Linked DNA regions of Homo sapiens: all the other regions are linked to region 1. The links are contacts of gene promoters, found by promoter capture Hi-C in blood cells and fetal thymus (Javierre and others, 2016). All regions are on one chromosome and are shown on one strand. The core of a region is centred on a gene start or on the middle of the fragment in contact, and the rest is flanking DNA. Distances in the headings are between cores, read along the strand shown.

Region 1 (2,768 bases), core at 199-2,698:
TTCCTTGGTGTCATCTCACAGTGCCTCCCTCAGGAGGGGAAAAGGGAGGGGAGTGAGAAGGCTGTTTAGCTGTGTTCCATACTGGCTGTGCCTCACACAACCGGCCCCACCCCGACAGGACTCCTTGGGGACAGAACGGGAGTGCATTCTCAGGCACCTAAATCTTACAGGCTCAGTGCCTGCACAGGGAGACGGGTCCGCAGCCCAGGGTCCCGGGCAGCTTTCGGGCTTGGGGGTGGATTGACACACAGCCCGATGGTATTCACACCCATTCCTTCACTGTCGCGCCCGGTCCTGGGGGACGGCATGGCACCAGCCAACGTCACGGGTTGGGTGTGAGTTCATGGTAGATTCTCACACGCCAGCCTCACAAGAGGCACTGCCGAGACCAGGCTTGCTGCCGCCTACTGTATGGCCGGCCCTGTGGGCACAGCTGTCCTCCACCCGCCTCCCAAGGCACCATCGGGCCCAGAATGTGCCCGATGAGTCACGGGCCTGGGTCTCCCCAGCATGGGCGCAGCAGGGGGGCTGAGTCCGCCTGAGCCCCGGTGCCCAGCTCAGGGTCTGGCACAGAGCAGATGCTAGTGAATGAACGTCGGGCTGGATGAATGAACGAATGACTAATGCCCGCTCCCTCAAACCACAGGCTACACCGTCTGAGCCTGGGGGAGGGCAGAGCCCACGGGACCCCAGAAGAGGCCTCCGCAGCTGAGGCTTTGCGTCCCAGGGTCGATGGGGGAGGGGGCGGGGCGGCCAGCAGCCGGCGCGGCACGGGGCTCCCCTCCTTCCCGAGAAGGAATCTGGGTCTCTGGACTGAGCTGGTGACGGGGGCTGGGGCGGGGGGTTGTGGCGTCCTGGATGGAGAGAGCTGCAGGAGCAGGGGGCGCGTCCCGGTTTGCGTTGGGGTGTGGGACGAAGCGGCGGCCGCGGGACATCCCCTTCGGTGGCGAAGCCCGGGTCTGCCCGGGGCCTCCGCGGGGTGCAGAGGGCTCCCAACGGCGGGACTGGCCCGGGGCGCCGCAGACCTGGCCCTTTCCGGCGGGGCCGTGGAGAAGGGGACGCGGTGTCCCCCGAGGTGACCGGGGGCGCAGGAAGGACGGGGGGCGCGCGGAGCCCCCTCTCCACGCGCGGGAGGTCCAGCCCCGCTACCGCCCCCTACGCCCTCCCGGGACCTCCGCCCACCTGCGCGAGGGGTTCACCTGGGCCGGCGGCCCCTCCTCTAGACGCGCGAGTCCCTCCCCCGGGCCCCGGCCCTGCCCTCCCCGCGCCCGCCCTCACCTGCACGGCCCGCCTTGGCCATGTCCCGGGCGGCGGGCTCCGGCGGCGCTACGCGCGCTCCTCGCGCTTCCCGGGCCCGGCCCCGACCGCCTCCGGCCCCGAACGGACTCCGAGCGCCGCGCCCGCGCCCCCGCCCCGCTCGCCTCGGCTGCCGCCACCGCAGCCGCCGCCGCCTCGCCGCTCCCTCCCGCTCCCTTAAAGGCGCCGAGCGGCGGCCGCGCCCCCCCCCCACCCCACCCCCCGCGCCGCCGGGGAGGGACTGACGAAGGAAGGCGCCCAACGCCGCCCCCGCGGGCCCGCACCCCCGCCCCGGGCCGTGGCCGCCGCGCTCCAGCCCGCTCCGCTCCGGCCCGCGCGGCCACCGCAGCGCGCGAGGGGCGGCAGCCCAGGGGCTCAGAGACGCGGAGACAGCCCGAGACACTGCGGGCCAGAGACGGGGCCCTGGACTGGGAGAGGGGCGCACAGACTATTAGACAGCGCTGGAGAGAGACGCTCCTAGGGCCAGAACGCCGAGGTGGAGGGAGAGAGAGAGAAATTCAGAGGAGACCAGAGACCCAGAGCCCGGCTCCGGCTCCGGGAGAGACGGACAGAGGGAGCGGAGAGAGGAAGGAGGACAGGGATCCAAGGGAGGCCCCCACGAAGTCAAGAGGAAAGTCGCTCTGGGATCAGAGACAAGAGAGGGACCCCCTCCATCAGCCCCCGCTCCAGGGGTTCTGGATCATTTATGGCGTCTGACCTAACCTCAAAAGAGAAAGGATTCCCGTGATTTTAACCCTCAAGGGATAAGTAAAACACTTGCACATCCACCTGGGGTTCTAGGCTGGAGCAGGCTTTGTGGACCCCAGCGGCCTGGTGGTGAGCAGTACCCGCCTTCCACTTCCTAAATCGGGATGCAGAGATTCTAGTGGACAGGCCTTGTGGTCCGGGGAGATATGGGTTATGACTTCTGTTTAGGGGCAGCAGGGATCCACAGTCCAGCCCCAAAAGAGAGCAGGAGATGGCCAATTGTATTTGGCGGTGCCTGAGAGGTAACAACCCTCCACTGAGAGGGTGCCCTGCCTCCCCCAGGAATTGGTAAGGCTGAAGCCCAGTTACCATCTGTAGAGCCAGGCACCCAACCCACCCTGTCCCACTCCACTTAACAGGGAAAAGGTCAACTGGAGAATTCCATCCATGGTCCAGGCTCCAGGGTCCTGCAAGCTCCTCTATGGAAACAGGGCACACATGGGGTTAGATGGGGGCTCTCAGTCCAGTGCCTTCTCTGGGGCTTTGACTCCATTCACAAGATTCCTGCTAAGCAGTCCTCCAGCTCCTGGTTGGTTACCTCCAAGGACAGGAAGCTCAGTATCTTAAGTGAGAGTTCTTCCTTTTATTAATTTTTTTTTTTTTTTTTTGGCTAGTGCTGGCCTTAAGAATGTTCTTACTCGTTTGAGCTGAAATCTACAACCCGCATGTCCCATCCATGAGTTCTGCTCTGCCTTCCGACACCT
Region 2 (2,768 bases), core at 83-2,582, 990 kb before region 1:
GGCGCCCGCCACCGCGCCCGGCTAATTTTTTGTATTTTTAGTAGAGACGGGGTTTCACCTTGTTAGCCAGGATGGTCTCGATCTCCTGACCTCATGATCCACCCGCCTCGGCCTCCCAAAGTGCTGGGATTACAGGCGTGAGCCACCGCGCCCGGCCCCATGTGGTTTTTATACTTGCCATGAAACTGTTCTTTGGGATATTATTTTGTTCAGGTTCCCCACTTGGACAGCAGAGGGGGTGACTCTGCCCATCCCTGCCACTGGTAGCCAGGCGGGCAATGTCTGCTAGCAGTCTGCTTCTGTCTGAACTCAGCCAGCAGAGGCAAACTCCCGGTTCCCCGAGAAACACTCTGAAGGCAGGGTGGGTGACTCCACCCACCACCGCCTCTCCTAGCCATGCAGGCCATGTCTGCTAGAGCTTCCAGCGCAGTGGTCCTAATTCTGTCTGAATCCGGCTGAGGGGTGCAGCCTCCTGTTACTGCCCAGGGAAACACCCAGATGGCAGGGTGGGTGACTCCAACCACCTCTGCCTGTGGTAGCCAGATGGGCCACACCTGCTAGAGCTTCCAGCCCAGCAGTCCCGCTACTCTGTGGGTGGGTGCCATCCCCTGTTCCTCTGGGAAGCACCCAGACAGCTGATTACGTGACCCCACCCACTTCTGCAGATCCTAGCTGAGCAGGACTTGCTGGTTTGGACAATGCCCAAGCAGGGAAGAGCCCTCATTCTCTTATCACTGACAGAGGTGAGATGTCCGAGTTTGTAGGCTGGTGGAGGAGTGAGGTGGAGGAGGTATGCCTCTCTCTGCAGGGCGGACCCAGCAAGGATACGGCCTGTCTGCCAACCACGGCCCCTGCCTGAAGGAACCCCGTTTACCAGAACACCCAACAAAAGAAATGCAGGTGTGGAGCCAGTAATCAGAAGGGTCTTGTCTAAGGCCCAGGAGTGGACTAAGTGAGAAGGTCACCCCCCTGTCCCCAACACACACAGAACACTACTGCCAACTGTACTGAAACATGAAGAACCACGCAGCAGAGTAAGAGTGTATCTCCTGGTGATCACTCTTAAGCACTGCCTACTGGATGGCGGCCCCAAAATACAACACCAAAATGTTTTGCAGTATTCAGTGCCATGAAAACTAAGGCAAAGGCTCCCACCAGTGCCCTGCCCCAGCCAACACACACGCACCCTGCCATGCCACTGTGGCTGGTGCCATGTGTGAGTGAGCACAGATCCTGCTGGCACTGCCACAAGGAAGCACTTTGGCCTGCACCCCCACTGGACTGTTGAGGCCAGCGGACTGGGAACACCTTGGCCCCTCTAATGCAGCAGGTTCTGAACCCCAGGAGGCCAGAGGAAAAGGCTGGGGACCCAGTACCAGCCTTCTAGAGTTAGAGCAGGCAGCTCAGGAGTGCTGAGCTGAGCCTTGGCCACCTGAAATCTTCCAGAATCGAAGCCAGTTGACTGAACCCACCTTATACGACAATCAAACCCCCAAGGGCTTCAAACAAGATAAAAACAAAACAAAAAAAACCCCATCCAAAGGAAGACAACTTCAAAGATTAAAGGAACATCAGCCCACACACACGAGAAAGAACCAGCTCAAGAGCTCTGGTAACTCAAAAAGCCACAGTGTCTTCCTATCTCCAGATGTGTGCACTAGTGCCTCAGCAATGGTATTTTAACAGGCTGAAATGGCTGAAATGACAGACATAGAATTCAGAATATGAGTAGGAATGAAGATCATTGAGATTCAGGAGAAAGTCAAAATCCAGTCCAAGCAATCTAAGGAATATGATAAAATGATACAGGAGCTGAAAGACGAAATGGTCATTTTAGGAAAGAACCAAACTGATCTGATAGAGCTGGAAATCTCACTACAAGAATTTCATAATACAATAGCAAGTATTAACAACAGGATAGACCAAGCTGAGGAAAGAATCTCAGAGCCTGAAGACTGGTTCTCCAAATTAACTCAGTCAGACAAAAATAAAAAAGAATGAAAACAAATGAACAACACCTCTGAGGAATATGGGATTTTGGAAAGAGACCAAATCTATGACTCGCTGGCATCCCTGAAAGAGCATGAGAAAGCCAGCAACTTGGAAAACGTATTTGAAGATATTGTCCACAAAAGTTTCCCCAACCTCCCTAGAGAAGCCAACATTTAAATTCAGGAAATGCAAAGAATCCTTGTGAGATACTATACAAGACAATCATCCCTAAAACACATAGTTCTCAGATTCCCCAAGTCCTCAGATTCTCCAAGGCCAACATGAAAGAAAAAACAATAAAGGCAGCTAGACACAGAAGGGGCAGGTCACCTAAAAAGGGAACCTCATCAGGCTAACAGTGAACTTTTCAGCAGAAGCCCTGCAAGGCAGAAGAGATTGGGGGCCTATATTCAGCATCCTTAAAGAAAAGAAATTCCAGCCAATAATTTCTTTTCTTTTTTAAAATTTTAAAATTATTTTTTAAAAATTTTGTGGATATGTAGTAGGTGTATGTATTTATGGGGATCCATGAGATGGTTTGATACAAGTAAGCACTGTAAAATAAGCACATCATGGAGAATGGGGTATGCAGCTCCTCAAACATTTAACCTTTGAGTTACAAACAATCCAACTATATTCTTTGTTATTAAAAAGTATACAATTAATTTATTATTGACTATAGTCACCCTATTGTGCTATCAAACAGTGGGTCTTATTCATTCTTTCTATTTTTTTGTACCCACTAACTATCCCCACCTTTCCCTCTTGCCCCCCAC
Region 3 (2,768 bases), core at 202-2,701, 960 kb before region 1:
TTCAGGTCCCAGCTGGATGGCCCCTCACACCACGGTCTCAGCATTTCCTGGCAATCTCTGCTATGGTTCTAGCTCGGGCTGGGTGGCCCTGGCTTCTCGGTTTTGGTAATATTGTCACCCCCGTGTCCTGCAGCTGTTGGAGGGGAAACTAGCCCCTGCTGTTGCTCATATTTGGGTGGCTTTACCATCTCTGCGTGGCTTCTTCATCTTTTTTATCCTCACTGTGGCCCGTCCTTCCTATCAAATTCCCTGTGATGGAAATACTAGAGTGGTTTCGGTTTTCCCGACTAGATCCTGATCATCATAGTCTTCTTTCATCAGTCAGCTGAAGGTTCAGTCCTGGGGTTCCTAGACCAGCCTCTGCCCTGGGTTCTACCCATAGGGGTCTCTTGTCTTGGCCACAGTGTTCCTGCAAGCCAGCCATTGGTGGCCCTTATAAGCACCAGTGTTGCCTCCTGCAGCTATTTGCCTTATGATTCCCTTTCAGAGATTTCGGTGATCTGGATCCTTGGCTGAATCAATGCTTCTGTTGGTTCTTATGGAGGAGGATTCTGAATCCTGGCGGAGTGGGGTAGGAGGCTTTGTGCAAGACCACAACCCACATGTGGCCACTACTTCCAGGATGCTAATTACCTTCTGTGCCTTGACACTTGGAAGAAGAGTGTTTGAAACACATTCAGATGCTAGTAAACTCCAGCAATTCATTATGCCAAGAGCTGGTGCCAATAGGAAATATAAACCCTTCCTGAGAGGCTTGGCTGAACTCAACAATTGATCAGTGTAGGATGATTAAGGGAAATGAGTCTGTCATGCAGCCACCCCCCACTATGGAGCAGTGATAATGTGTCTTAGGGGACCTGGCTGGAGCCAGAACCGGGGCTGAGTGGACCAGAGGCTGACCCCCTGGTGGCTCTCACATCCCTTTGCAGGATGGCAGGAGGGTGAAGGGACTCCCCAACCCTTGGTGGAGTTAAAGGTGTAGGAACTGAGGTGAGGGAACCAGGGCTGGAGAGATGGATGGGTCACTCCAAGGCAGCAGATGGGACCAGGTGAAACCTTTCCCAAGAGTGGAGAAATGAAAATACTTAAAGCTTCAGTTTGACAAGTATGTATGATAGAGGAGAAGAGAAAAAGCTAAGAGAGGGCAAGGAAGAGAGATCTGGGCACTAGAAAAAGGGTGGACATTTCTTTTCCTTTTTTGTCTTTTTTTTTGAGGTGGAGTCTCACTTTGTCACCCAGGCTGGAGTGCAGTGGCGTGACCTTGGCTCACTGCAACCTCCGCCTCCCAGGTTCAAGTGATTCTCCTGCCTCAGCCTCCCGAGTAGCTGGGATTACAGGTGTGTGCCACCATGCCCAGCTAATTTTTGTATTTTTAGTAGAGACGGGGTTTCACCATGTTGGCCAGGCTGGTCTCAAACTCCTGACCTTGTGATCTGCCTGCCTCGACCTCCCAAAGTGCTAGGATTACAGGTGTGAGCCACCGTGCCCGGCCAAGGGTGGACATTTCTATAAAGGTCATTGAGGAGATAGGATGGCAGGAGACAGGAATTCAACATGCAGGACACTGAGGCCCATTCCACAAGACAGGAGCCTGTGGCTTCATTTATGTAGTGCCTGTGTGTGCCAGGTACGTGGGAATGCAGAGGTGAAAAAGACAGTGCCTGCTCTTTGTGTGCTCCACAACTGTGGAGACTGAGAATAAAGGAGATGACCACAATTCAGTGTGGTATGGGCTCAGGTGTGTGGGCACACCAGTTGCTGTGGGGTTTAAAAGAGGAGCACCTGAGTTAAGGAAACTTGGGATGCCAGGTAAAGCTTCCAGGAGGAAGAGATTTCTGCATGGAGTCTTGAAGGAAAAACTGTAGTTATGCAGGAAGAGGAAGCAGAGGGGCTGGTGAAGGCATCACAGCATCTGGAGAGTGGTACCCAAAGGCCTGGAGTGAGGGAGAGCTGGGTGTGTTTTGGGAGCTGGATGGGTGATGATGTGAGCAGAGGCTGGAGAGGCAAGTGGTGGTGGAGGTACCCTGGGAGGCCTGATGCTACTAGGAGTTTGGACTGGCCTCCTGCGAGTCATGTGGAGCTGTTGAAACAATATGCTGGAGGAGTGATACAGGGAGATTTATAGTTTAGAAAGATTCCCCTGGCTGCAACGGGGAAGTGTGATCAGAGAGGGTAAGACCGAGGCAAGAAGACCACACAGGTGGCACTTGTGATGGTTCATGTGACAACTGCTTCCTACCAGCCCAGGCTATGCTGTGACTCCAGACAGTCCAGCTATAACAACCAGGCAGAGGGAGCCTGTCCCATCCCTGACCAGGATCTGTGGGCCCTAATGGGGCTCACTCTGGCACGGAGAGAGGGACCTTGGGGAGCTGCTTTGGGAGCAGAAGTGGCAGAGAAGTCAGCTGGCCAGGCTCTGAGATGTGCCCTGTCTTCTGCAGCTGACCGCAGGGCCAATGCGGTTTGACTCAGTGGGGCCAGTGCTTTGCAGGTGGAGGCAGAGATTTAACGGCTGCTGCTGCTGAGTTGTGAGAGTGAGGGTTTTTCGGGAATGTATGTGAAGGAGGCATCTCTATACAGCTAAATTCCTTTATTAACTTAATGAGTTTGGCTGCTTTCCTGGAAATGCAAGTGCCATTTGGCACCATCGCTGCTGCCTCAGAAAGGGTGTCATTACACTAAGAATCTGTAGGAACGTAGAATAGTGATAAACGAAGCTGCCTGGGAGATTACACAGCATCACGCAGGCTTCACAAGGGCTTTCAGAA

The links. Contacts are between HindIII fragments. The CHiCAGO score rates a contact against its expected background, and 5 or more counts as called.
Region 2: a fragment that was not itself captured here is called in contact with the fragment with the promoter of PITPNM3 in region 1 in 2 of 17 cell types (M2 macrophages and M1 macrophages); the score reaches 6.5 in M2 macrophages.
Region 3: a fragment that was not itself captured here is called in contact with the fragment with the promoter of PITPNM3 in region 1 in 1 of 17 cell types (M1 macrophages); the score reaches 5.2 in M1 macrophages.

The regions. Positions count from the first base shown.
Region 1 is chr17:6,555,107-6,557,874 of GRCh38, forward strand. It overlaps PITPNM3 (PITPNM family member 3), which reads right to left and starts at 1,449. Exons shown (of 20, transcript NM_031220.4): 1 at 1,279-1,449. The coding sequence starts at 1,300. RefSeq lists an enhancer at 1-360. The HindIII fragment of the contact is 11,474 bases long and covers 1-2,768 here.
Region 2 is chr17:5,561,586-5,564,353 of GRCh38, forward strand. The region is part of intron 3 of NLRP1 (NLR family pyrin domain containing 1); the gene reads right to left. Among named protein-coding and RNA genes, the nearest start is that of NLRP1, 22 kb to the right of the region's middle. RefSeq lists an enhancer at 14-515. The HindIII fragment of the contact is 5,112 bases long and covers 1-2,768 here.
Region 3 is chr17:5,595,978-5,598,745 of GRCh38, forward strand. No RefSeq gene overlaps it. Among named protein-coding and RNA genes, the nearest start is that of NLRP1, 13 kb to the left of the region's middle. The HindIII fragment of the contact is 724 bases long and covers 1,090-1,813 here.